4 separate regions of the Homo sapiens genome follow, and regions 1, 3 and 4 are each linked to region 2. Evidence: promoter capture Hi-C in human tissues and cell types (Jung and others, 2019). All regions are on one chromosome and are shown on one strand. The core of a region is centred on a gene start or on the middle of the fragment in contact, and the rest is flanking DNA. Distances in the headings are between cores, read along the strand shown. Region 1 has its middle 390 kb from the start of SMYD3-AS1. Region 2 holds the start of KIF26B (kinesin family member 26B). Region 3 overlaps SMYD3 (SET and MYND domain containing 3). Region 4 overlaps SMYD3 (SET and MYND domain containing 3).

Evidence for each region. Contacts are between HindIII fragments. The study calls those that stand out against the background at their distance.
Region 1: a fragment that was not itself captured here is called in contact with the fragment with the promoter of KIF26B in region 2 in 1 of the 25 tissues and cell types used here (dorsolateral prefrontal cortex).
Region 3: a fragment that was not itself captured here is called in contact with the fragment with the promoter of KIF26B in region 2 in 2 of the 25 tissues and cell types used here (H1 embryonic stem cells and hippocampus).
Region 4: a contact is called between a fragment that was not itself captured here and the fragment with the promoter of KIF26B in region 2, in 1 of the 25 tissues and cell types used here (lymphoblastoid cells).

What each region holds. Positions count from the first base shown.
Region 1 is chr1:245,721,114-245,724,161 of GRCh38, reverse strand. No RefSeq gene overlaps it. Among named protein-coding and RNA genes, the nearest start is that of SMYD3-AS1, 390 kb to the left of the region's middle. The HindIII fragment of the contact is 4,564 bases long and covers 1-3,048 here.
Region 2 is chr1:245,153,508-245,156,565 of GRCh38, reverse strand. It overlaps KIF26B (kinesin family member 26B), which reads right to left and starts at 1,581. Exons shown (of 15, transcript NM_018012.4): 1 at 1,079-1,581; 2 at 1-284. The coding sequence starts at 1,141. RefSeq lists silencers at 1-172, 2,040-2,239 and enhancers at 2,094-2,769, 2,770-3,058. The HindIII fragment of the contact is 11,465 bases long and covers 1-3,058 here.
Region 3 is chr1:245,832,044-245,834,790 of GRCh38, reverse strand. All of the region lies in intron 10 of SMYD3 (SET and MYND domain containing 3), which reads left to right. Among named protein-coding and RNA genes, the nearest start is that of SMYD3-AS1, 280 kb to the left of the region's middle. The HindIII fragment of the contact is 3,161 bases long and covers 1-2,747 here.
Region 4 is chr1:245,816,034-245,818,992 of GRCh38, reverse strand. All of the region lies in intron 10 of SMYD3 (SET and MYND domain containing 3), which reads left to right. Among named protein-coding and RNA genes, the nearest start is that of SMYD3-AS1, 290 kb to the left of the region's middle. RefSeq lists enhancers at 1,545-2,159, 2,160-2,775. The HindIII fragment of the contact is 3,850 bases long and covers 1-2,959 here.

The DNA.
Region 1 (3,048 bases), core at 476-2,975, 570 kb before region 2:
CCCACTTAAAGAAGCAGCCTGGCCGCGATCTACCACAGCAGCTGGCTGCGCGGCATGGCGCTGAATTCCTTTTGGTCTGGACCTTGCAGACTCCTGGAGTTGGCAGGCCAAAATGGCTGACTTGAGCCATGTAGATGGCGGCTGCCCCTCCCCCTGGGAACTTGGTCATCTCCGGCAATCTCCAGCCTGCTCCCACAGGCTGGCTAGAATTCCAAGTCAGTGGGTTTTAACTCGTGAGGTGCTATGGGAGTGGGGCCTGCAGGATGACGCTGCTTAGTGTCCTGGCTTTAGCCCCCTTCCTAGGGGAAAGCTTGGAAGATCTCCTGTCTCACTGGAATTCCCGGGGTGGAGTATGCAAGAAACTCCTGGGTCTTTGTGCATGGCCAAGCAGCTGCGAGAGTTCACACAGCTCTGTGCTTGGGAACCAAGGCCTTGCTGGGTGCACAAGGGGATCTCCTGATCTGCGGGTTGCAAAGATCCATGGGAAAAGCATGGCTTCCTGGGGGGGCGTTGTACAATCACTCACCACCTTTCTTGCCTGGGGTGAGGGCTCACCTGGTTCCACCCCGCTCAAGGGTGGGCTGTTGCCCCACCCTGCTTTTCCTCACTCTCTTGGGTTGCACGGACCACCCAGGCAGGCCCAATGCAATGGTTATTTTGTGGTCTTCTCCTTCTTATTTCCTTCCTTCCTGTCTTTCTTTTAGTGAAAGTGATTTTCTCTGGTGGTAGGATTTAATTTCTTGCTTTTTATTTTTGGCATATCCATTGTATGTTTTTTGATTTGAGGTTACCATTAGGCTTACAAATAATATCTATTACCCATTATTTTAAGACTGCTTGCATAAACAAAGAAGCAAAAAATCCTAATAATGGTTAGGTTAACTACACTTTAATTTCATCCCGTGTTTTTTAACTTTTTAAATTTATATATTAAATTTATATATTTTTAACTTTTAAATGTATGTATTATTGTATTGTCTATGTCTTGAATAGTTGTAGTTATTATTTTTTATTAGTTCATCTTTTAGTCTTTTCTACTCAAGGTAAGAGTAGTTTACAAGCCAGAGTTACAATGTTTAATATTCTGTGTTTTTCTGTGTGCTTACTATTACCAGTAAGTTTTGTATTTTCAGATGATTTCTTATTGCTCATTAACATCCTTTTCTTTCTGATTGAAATACTTCCTTTAACATTTCTTGTAGGACAGTTCTAGTCTTTGTTGAAATCCCTCAGCCTTTGTTTATCTGAGAAAGTATTCTTCCTTCATGTATGAAGGATATTTTCGATAGATATTCTATTCTAGGGTAAAAGTTTTTTTCCTTCAGCACTTTAAATATGCTCTTCTCGACTATCAGTTCTCCACTGAGAAGTCGGCTGCTAGCTATATTGAAACTCCAATGGGTTATTTGTTTCTTTTATTTTGCTGCTTTTAGGATCTTTTCTTTATTGTTGACCTTTGGGAGTTTGATTTTTAAATGCTTCGAGGTAGTCTTCTTTGAGTTAAATCTGCTTGGTGTTCTGTAGCCTTCTTTTACTTAGATATTGATATCTTCTGGGTTTGAGGTGTTCTCTGTTAACCCTTTGAATAAACTTTCTATCCCTATCTCCTTCTCTACCTCCTCTTTAAGGCCAATAACGGATGCATTCTTCAGTATGTCATTTGCAATTTCAGCTCCAGAATTTCTGCTTGATTCTTTTTAATTATTTTAATCTCTTTGTTCAATTTATGTGATAGAATTCTGAATTCCATTTCTGTGTTATCTTGAATTTCTCAGAGTTTCCTCAAAATGGCTGTTTTGAATTCTCTGTCTGAAAAGTTGCATATCTCTGTTTCTCTGGGATTGTTCCCTGATGCCTGATTTAGTTCATTTGGTGAGGCCACATTTTCCTGAATGGTTTTGATGCTTGTGGATGTTCTTTGGTGTCTGGGCATTGAAGAGTTAGGTACTTATAGTCTTTGCAATCTGGGCTGTTTGTGCCTGTTCTTCTTGGGAAGGCTTTTGAGGTATTTGAAAGGACTTGGGTGTGTTATCTAAGTCATGTTTGTATTACAAGGCACCCCAAGCCTGGTAACACTGTGGTTCTTGCAGACTCATAGAGGTACCACCTTTGTGGTCTTGGATAAGATCTGCAAGCGTTCTCTGGATACCAAGCAAAGATTCTTGTTCTCTTCCCTTACTTTCTCCCAAACAAACATAGTCTCTCTCTCTGTGCTGAGCTACCTGGAGTTGGGTGTGAGGTGACACAAGCTCCCCTGTGGCCACTATCACTGGGGCTGCACTGGTCAGACCTGAAGCCAGCACAGTAGTGAGTTTCACCCAAGGCCTGCTAGAAGCACTACCTGGCTATGGCCTATATTTGCTCGAGGCCCTGGGGCTTTACAGTAAGCAGGTGGTGAAGCCAACCAGGCATGTGTCCTTCTCTTCAGGGCATTGGGTTCCCTTAGGCCCTGGGCAGGTCCAGAGGTGCTGTCCAGGAGCCACGTACTGGAACCAAAATCCTTAGAAATATACCTGGTGTTCTATTCTACTGCAGCTGAGCTGGCACTCAAACCATGAGTCCCAGCTCTTCCCACTCTTTCGTCCCGTTTCCACAGGCAGCCCATGGCTACCACCACCTGGATATTACTTGGATATTGCTGCTGGTTATTCAGGACCCAGGAGCTCTTTAGCCAGCAGGTGATGGATCCTGATAGCACTGGGTCCTTCCTTTCAAAGCAGTGGGTTCCCTTTTGGCCCTGGGTGTGTCTGGAAATGTCATCCAGGAGGAAGGACCTGAAATGGGGACTTCACAACTCTGACTAGTGCCCTATCCTACTTTGGGTGAGCTGGTACCCAAGATGTAAGACAAAGTTCTCTTTACTCTTTACTCTTCCCTCCCCTCTCCTCAAGCAGAATGGAGGGATCTCTTTTGGAGCCAAGAGCTGTGCTGCCTGGGGTTGGGGAAGGACTGGTGCAAACACTCCTTTAGCTGTGTTGGGTGGTGTCTCAGTAGGTCGCATGCTCCCCAAGCCCACTGGCTTCGAGCCCAGCTCAGCACTAGGACTTG
Region 2 (3,058 bases), core at 332-2,831:
CCGCTGCCGGAGCCCGGGGAGCCTGTGCCGAAGCCCGGAGAGCCGCCCAAGGAGCCCGGCGAACTAGTGCCGATGCCGGGGGAGGCGGGTCCCGGGGAGCCGGTGAACGAGCTCGGGGACGAGGTGCCCGAGCCGGGAGACGGGGTCCCCGAGGAGCCGAGCGCTGAGCCCGCGCCCTCAGGAGTGGGCCGGCTGCCGGCGCGCGACTCCTCGTATGCTTTCCGGTACCAGCTTTCCGGGGAGAAGGGCGCTGCGGGCTTGGTGGGCGAGCAGACTTCATTCACCTGCGGGGAAGACACGCCGGTGTCAGGGGCTGCAAGGCGGCGGGCTGCAGCGCCCAGGAGCTGGGTCATACGTGCGCCACCAAGTACCCGCTCGAACCGCCCACGGGAGTCGGTTGGGGACCTCTCCAAGCCCTGCGGCCAAATTGCCCTCCGTCTGTCTCGTTAATTGTCCTTAAGTGAGTCCCCACCGCCCAGGTGACCCCTGCGCTGGTCCCCGGTGGCCTCCTCCTGGGGTCAGGAAGGGGACTCGCTCGGGGCCGTTTCCACGGCTTCTGCAAGGCGGGGGGGATCCATAGGTTCAGCGCCCCACGCTTTTGAAGCCGGCACCTATCCCAGCAAGATCCCGGGAACAAAATCCTGGAAGACCCTATGGGGGGGGTAGGGGGAGGGCTGTGATTTCAGGATTTTTATTCATACGGGGTCCAACTCTCCGGATCCTGCAGGTAAACGAGAGGCTCTCACGGCTCCAGCTAAACGATCCGAGGTACTGCCCAGCATTCATGGGAAACCCTCCCCTTCGGCTTCACTCTGCCTAGAAGTGCAGGAATGCGGCAAAAGTTACGGGTGCGTGGAAAGGAAGGAACGAGAGGGCTGAAAAAATTCCGAGAGCGAGGCGAGCGTGCGGGCGTCCCCGCGGCCGACCCGCCTCCGCGCACTCACAACCCCGCCAGCCCCGGGGGCGCCTCTGCAGCGGGGGAGAGCTCGGGGCCGGGGCCGCACGATCCCGGGGAAAGGGGGACCTCCGCCGAGATGGGTCTGGTAACGCGTCTCCGCGTCGTACCGTCACAACTTACCCCGTATTTCTTGCCCCTGGTGGAGACCGCAAGCCTCTCTTTATTCCCAGCTACCGAATTCATGGTGGCTTTTCCAGAGGAGAGTATCTAAAGGTTCCACCGACGCTACATCCAGAAGGTCCTCCAACCCAGAAGCGTCCCCCGGCTGCAGGGGGCTGGCTCTCAGCCCTCAGGGCAAGGTTTCTTCAGCGGTGGGGTGGGAGGGAATGAAAGCAAATGGATCCCACAAGTAATAGCACCAATTTGCAGAAAGGGTTGGGGTCGCTGGTTTATTCTTCTCTTCAAAGCATGCTTTTCCTCGTCCCCTTCTGCCTCTTCCAGCCGCACGTCCTCTTGTCACGGCCACATCCACAGAACTGGCATTTTCTTCAGCCAAGTCAGTCCGTGCTCCCCCACGAGGAAAGCGAGGGATACAATCAGGGCTCGCGGCCGCTGCCGGGAAGGTGGGAGAGCCGAGCCGAGTCAGCTGTGGGAACTTGTCTCCTTCACCGAGCTTGGTAACTGAGTTCAAAGAAATTCTCCCAAAATATAAAGATCCAGACTCGGGGAGGAGCCTCGGCGTGTCGCCGAGCCAATATCCGCCGGCCCGTTTCGCCTGACAGTTGCGCGAGGGCCGGGAGAGGGGCGGCTCCGCGTGGCCCGGGAGCGGTCGGCGGTCACAGCGCGCGTGTGCGCCCGGGCGCAGCGCGGAGGAGCCTCGGGAACCTGCCGCCCTCGCCGCGCCGGCCGGGATCCATTTTATGTGGCGGCGCTCGTGCCTGACATTGCGAGGCCTGGAGCCGGGCTGGGGCTGGGGGCGGGGGATCGTCGATCTCGCCGCGTGCGGGGAAGTTCCTGGCGCGCGGCCCGGGCCCGGGGCTCTAATGAAACGCCGCTGCGCGAGCCTGGAGCCCGGGGGCCGCGCGAGCGAGCGTGGCTGGACGGAAATGCGGTGCCCCAGCCTCCCCCGCCCCCAAGTTCTTTCTCTTCCTGACAAGGCTTGCAGGTCTGTCTGTGAAACGCCGTGCAAAAGGGATTGAGTCACAAACAAGTCCACAAACATGCCGGGTCCTCCCCCCGCCCTTTGTTCTCGGAGAGCTGCCGGGCAAACCTTTTCTGGAATTGCCCTACCGACCCCGGGCCGGCCGGGGGGCCACCCTCCCCGACCGCAGCCGCAGGACTAGGGCCCTTGGTCCCCCGCCCGCCCGAGCCCCGGTCTGTGATGGACTAAGCCGCCCGGGGCTGGGACAGGTGAGCCTGGTGACCCAGCGGGCCGCTGCCGGGCAGGGGAAACTGAGGGCTTCGCCGCGCTGCACGCGGACGACTCTGGCCTGGAGAGGGGGTGTGGCGCGAGCTGGCCTTGGCCTCTCCTTGCGTGGGATCGGGCCCCTCGCCCCCCGCCGCCCGTTTCTTCCTGCGCCTGGGCCCCGCGGGGTCTCCGGAGCACCCCGTCATCGCTCCCTCTCCGATCGCCCCCCGCCCCAGTCCCCCGGCGCAGCGCCCAGGAGCGCAGGAAGCCGGCGTATGCCAGGCTCCACACGTGGCTGCTCTGGGGTGTCATTTTTCATTTCACGGGAGGACATTTCTTCTGGTGAGCCAGCAGGTCTGTTTTGTTGTGACCTTTAATTAACACCCCGCGAGACGCCTCTGGAAGGACTGGCCGGGCGCAGGGATCACGTGGGGTGTAACGGCATCTCCGCGCCCGCGGGGAGACCCAGCCCGGGGGTGGGCGAGGGCGCGAAGGACGTTCAGGGCTTTCTGGTCGCTGACTTCCTTCTGAGCTGTGGACGACGCAGGAGGGGGCAAGAAGACAAAGGTTCGGGGTTCTGGAAGCCTGGGGCCACGCCCCCACTCTGCCTTCCTCGGGGACAATTTCTTCTGTGCCTCCCGTGCTCTGCCCCACTCCTCCCCGCTCCAGCTCCTGCGCGGGAATATTTCACAGCCACCAAAGCGAGGTAAAAAGGTCAAAAGGAAGATGGCAAGAACAGAGTGGACGTTTCC
Region 3 (2,747 bases), core at 206-2,705, 680 kb before region 2:
CAATAGCCAAGGCAGAGCCTGGGCCTAAATGACACTAGGATCTCCCTTTCTGGCCTCCCATGTACGGGCTGAAATGGTGATTACTCCCTGTGTTGCCGTGATCCTCCGAACAGGAAGATTGCTCCACTGGGGCTGCTCAGAACTGTGAAATGAGGTTGGCTAGGATGTCTATTATAATTTGCTTCCTAAATTTTCAGCTTACCCACCTGCCACTACAGTGTTCCTCAGAGGACGTTAAGATGTAGTATCAGAGAACAGAAGTTCATTCTATTAGAGTCAGGTATGAGTCCTGGCAGTTAAAGGATGCAAAGGTTAGTAGGGGGCTGGGGTGAGCCCATCCTCATTCACAGTGGTCCAATGAGCAGGCAGCTCTGATACGATTTTGGAACTCAGTGTTCGCATGCTTACCTGCCTGTCTGGACCATTTTTACTCCCGGATATCGTGACAAAGGTCAGCCACTTCCATAGGACTGTCAGTATATCCGTGCATAGCTCACAGACGTGCAAGCAGAGCCTTCCCAGGGGTGTATGAGAGGTCAAAGAAATGCATTTAAATGCATCAGAATTGTGACTGAGGATGTCAGAGGCTCTGAAGAGCATTCCTTTATGAGGAAGCTTGCCACAGTCAGGCAGCTGGGACTCAAAGCAGATTCAGCTGGCTCAGCCCTGTTCCTTCCCCTCTATTCATAGGTTCAGGTGAAGAAAGGGCCTTAAGTGAAAAGAGGACTCTGTGATCAAATTAGTTTGGGAAACTGTAGGTTAAATAAGGTTACTGCAGGATGTCCCAGAACCTTTACAGTACACTTGATTCTAAAATAAAAAGCCCATGTTTTTATACTTCAATGTTTCTAAAATTAGAGTAAACTTTGGAATCAGTGTCAGAAGCGGGGATGGGCATAGAGCAAGTTAAATGAGGTGCATGGGGTGCAAGATTCATGCGGGTGAGACCCTGAGAGTGAGTGTGTCTGGCTTCTCACGCCAATGAGCTCCCGGCCCTGGCCAGGACGCTGAGGTTGTCCCTGCCTGCACAAGATGCAGGGACCTAGCCAGTCTTTGTACATGCTTGCCCATTTGATGGCACCTCAGGTGAGTTCTTAAAATAGGGAGTCCACCAAAGTTGAATTTAACTTAGATCCCTTCATTTGCTACACCTTGCAGTGGAAAAACTTGGCAAACACTACCTTAACTAAGGGATCAGGTTAGCTTCACAAGTGAGGCCATGTGGCTGCCACGTCCCCTGTGATAGGATGTAATGAGAAGGGTACTTTACTTCTGTGGCATTTTTTACAAAAATACCTCCATTTAGTCTTGAGAAAAGCAAGAGAGAAACACAGATCAGAGTACATTGTACAGTACATTTGGCCAGGACGCTTCAAGACTGTCAAGAAAAGATTGAGAAACTGCCACAGAGCAGAGGAGACTGAGGCAACATGACAACTGAATGCATTGTTGTCAGAACAGAACATAAAAGAGACGTGGGTAGATGCACGGGTGAAATCTAAGTAAAGCCTGGGGTTTAGTTAATAGTCACATACCAACATTTGCTTCTTAGTTTTGACAAATGTTCCTTGGTAATGTAAGATGTTAGCAACAGAGGACTGGGTAAAGGGTGTATAGGAACACTCTACTATCTTTGCAACTTTTCTGTAAATCTAAAATTATTCCAAAATGTGTATTTTAAAAACATTGTTATGAATCAGCATTATAAAAGCAGGTTTTTTTTTTTTTTTTGTCACATATTCCGGGCAGTAATTAAAGGCAACAGAGATTGCCAAATGTCTAGGAATGGATCGTGGAAGCTTCACTGTGCGGAGAAGGTGGTTTGACAGTTCTTGGAATGCTGATTCCCCCATTATGAAGAACTATCACTCCATCTCCAAGAATCTGTCAAGAGCTTCCAGCTGACACTTAGCAAAGTCAATACCTTTCAGTCACGTTATTCAATTAAGGAAAATATGAAACAATAAGCTTATAAAAAAAGGCACATGAAACTTGAATATTTCTTTACAGGATTCAACATTATGTTGTTTATTCTAAGGATACAAAGGAGACCAAGATCATAAGTTTATGAAAAGCAACTTGTCCCTCTAAGATTCCATATAACTTCTAATGGTCAAAAGTGACTCAGTGAACCCTTAGACTCAGATGGCAAAGAGTGATTAGATGCAAACTGTAACTGAGATACTAAAGAAGAAATCCTGAGTGCTCATCTAGATAAATGTAGGCTCTTACTGTGTGTTAAAAACAAAACTATATTACTTATAATCAGGTGTCGTCTTCTCCTCAACTCTCAAAAAAAAAAAAACAAAAAAAACATTAAATCGATGAGGAGCTTAAAACTGATGATGTCTTAGAATCTTAGAAATAAGACAGGGGTGGAATGCATTGTCCCAAACTTAACTGCCCATGGAACCCTGGAGTTCCATGGAACACACTTTGGGAAAGATTGCTCCATCCTGTTTGCTGCCTGTTCATTTGATGTCGGATAAATTCCCAGCCTGAAGGCTGTCAGGGTTGCAGCCATTAAATTTCAGAAGGATTGTGCTAGGCAGACATCTTTTATTGAGAAGATCTGAACCCAGAGACACTCATTATATAAACGAGCCCCGAAGGGTGAGACCCAGCCTCTTGACCAGGCATTATTGAGCCAGGCTTTAGGTTAGATGAGACAGACAGATCCTTTCTGGACTGAATGTGGTAAAAGATGCCCCAGACCTGCCCATTCATTAGAAAGTAAGCCCAAAAAG
Region 4 (2,959 bases), core at 427-2,926, 660 kb before region 2:
CTGTCTCGTTGATCTGTCTGATGTTGACAGTGGGGTGTTAAAGTCTCCCATTATTAATGTGTGGGAGTCTAAGTCTCTTTGCAGGTCACTCAGGACTTGCTTTATGAATCTGGGTGCTCCTGTATTGGATGCATATATATTTAGGATAGTTAGCTCTTCTTGTTGAATTCATCCCTTTACCATTATGTAATGGCCTTCTTTGTCTCTTTTGATCTTTGTTGGTTTAAAGTCTGTTTTATCAGACTAGGATTGCAACCCCTGCCTTTTTTTTGTTTTCCATTTGCTTGGTAGATCTTCCTCCATCCTTTTATTTTGAGCCTATGTGTGTCTCTGCTCGTGAGATGGGTTTCCTGAATACAGCACACTGATGGGTCTTGACTCTTTATCCAATTTGCCAGTCTGTGTCTTTTAATTGGAGCATTTAGTCCATTTACGTTTAAAGTTAATATTGTTATGTGTGAATTTGATCCTGTCATTATGATGTTAGCTGGTTATTTTGCTCGTTAGTTGATGCAGTTTCTTCCTAGTCTCAATGGTCTTTACATTTTGGCATGATTTTGCAGTGGCTGGTACCGGTTGTTCCTTTCGATGTTTAGCGCTTCCTTCAGGAGCTCTTTTAGGGCAGGCCTGGTGGTGACAAAATCTCTCAGCATTTGCTTGTCTGTAAAGTATTTTATTTCTCCTTCACTTATGAAGCTTAGTTTGGCTGGATATGAAATTCTGGGTTGAAAATTCTTTTTAAGAATGTTGAATATTGCTCCCCACTCTCTTCTGGCTTGTAGGGTTTCTGCTGAGAGATCCGCTGTTAGTCTGATGGGCTTCCCTTTGAGGGTAACCCGATCTTTCTCTCTGGCTGCCCTTAACATTTTTTCCTTCATTTCAACTTTGGTGAATCTGACAATTATGTGTCTTGGAGTTGCTCTTCTCGAGGAGTATCTTTGTGGCGTTCTCTGTATTTCCTGAATCTGAATGTTGGCCTGCCTTGCTAGATTGGGGAAGTTCTCCTGGATAATATCCTGCAGAGTGCTTTCCAACTTGTTTCCATTCTCCCCATCACTTTCAGGTACACCAATCAGACGTAGATTTGGTCTTTTCACATAGTCCCATATTTCTTGGAGGCGTTGCTCATTTCTTTTTATTCTTTTTTCTCTAAACTTCCCTTCTCACTTCATTTCATTCATTTCATCTTCCATCACTGATACCCTTTCTTCCAGTTGATCACATCGGCTCCTGAGGCTTCTGCATTCTTCACATAGTTCTCGAGCCTTGGTTTTCAGCTCCATCAGCTCCTTTAAGCACTTCTCTGTATTGGTTATTCTAGTTATACATTCTTCTAAATTTTTTTCAAAGTTTTCAACTTCTTTGCCTTTGGTTTGAATGTCCTCCCATAGCTCAGAGTAATTTGATCGTCTGAAGCCTTCTTCTCTCAGGTCATCAAAGTCATTCTCCGTCCAGCTTTGTTCCGTTGCTGGTGAGGAACTGCGTTCCTTTGGAGGAGGAGAGGTGCTCTGCTTTTTAGAGTTTCCAGTTTTTCTGTTCTGTTTTTTCCCCATCTTTGTGGTTTTATCTACTTTTGGTCTTTGATGATGGTGATGTACAGATGGGTTTTTGGTGTGGATGTGCTTTCTGTTTGTTAGTTTTCCTTCTAACAGGCAGGACCCTCAGCTGCAGGGCTGTTGGAATACCCTGCCATGTGAGGTGTCAGTGTGCCCCTGCTGGGGGGTGCCTCCCAGTTAGGCTGCTCGGGGGTCAGGGGTCAGGGACCCACTTGAGGAGGCAGTCTGCCCGTTCTCAGATCTCCAGCTGCGTGCTGGGAGAACCACTGCTCTCTTCAAAGCTGTCAGACAGGGACACTTAAGTCTGCAGAGGTTACTGCTGTGTTTTTGTTTGTCTGTGCCCTGCCCCCAGAGGTGGAGCCTACAGAGGCAGGCAGGCCTCCTTGAGCTGTGGTGGGCTCCACCCAGTTCGAGCTTCCCGGCTGCTTTGTTTACCTAAGCAAGCCTGGGCAATGGCGGGCGCCCCTCCCCCAGCCTCGCTGCCGCCTTGCAGTTTGATCTCAGACTGCTGTGCTGGCAATCAGCGAGACTCCGTCGGGTAGGACCCTCCGAGCCAGATGCGGGATATAATCTCGTGGTGCGCCGTTTTTTAGGCCGGTCCGAAAAGCGCAATATTCGGGTGGGAGTGACCCGATTTTCCAGGTGCGTCCGTCACCCCTTTCTTTGACTAGGAAAGGGAACTCCCTGACCCCTGGCGCTTCCCGAGTGAGGCATTGCCTTACCCTGCTTCGGCTCGCGCACGGTGCGCGCACCCACTGACCTGTGCCCACTGTCTGGCACTCCCTAGTGAGATGAACCCGGTACCTCAGATGGAAATGCAGAAATCACCGTCTTCTATGTCACTCACGCTGGGAGCTGTAGACTGGAGCTGTTCCTATTCGGCCATCTTGGCTCCTCTTTTTTTTTTTTTTTTTTTTTTACATAGATGAAGGGGACCTCTCATAATAGATGGCACCTTGAGTTGGGTTGTAGCTGGCTTTTGCAGTTGCTTAGATGAGTATTGCATTGTTCCAGTCGTCCTATTCTGAAATGTGTCTGAGAATCCTGTTTTAGAGCCAAGCTCCATTCTAGCAAACAGTAGTGCAAGCCCCACTCCTTGGCCTGATTGATACAGTAATGGCACTGTCCACCCCCTAGCCACCCCGGGAGTACTCTCTGTGGGGAGTTTGCTGCTGCCGTCTAAACTGAAATGGACTTGATTTTCTCTTCTGAGTAGATGCTCAGCTGTAATCCATTGGGAGAAAATTCTTGATTTCTTGGGATATTTAGGAAGGCTAGCGACAGGTAGGAGCTTCTTTATTTATTATGCTTTTCTCTAGAAGCTTCATTGAATACATTATCTTCTGCCCCACACCCCAGGGCTTTGACCAAAATATCCTTGAGATACTGTGGCCCATATTCGG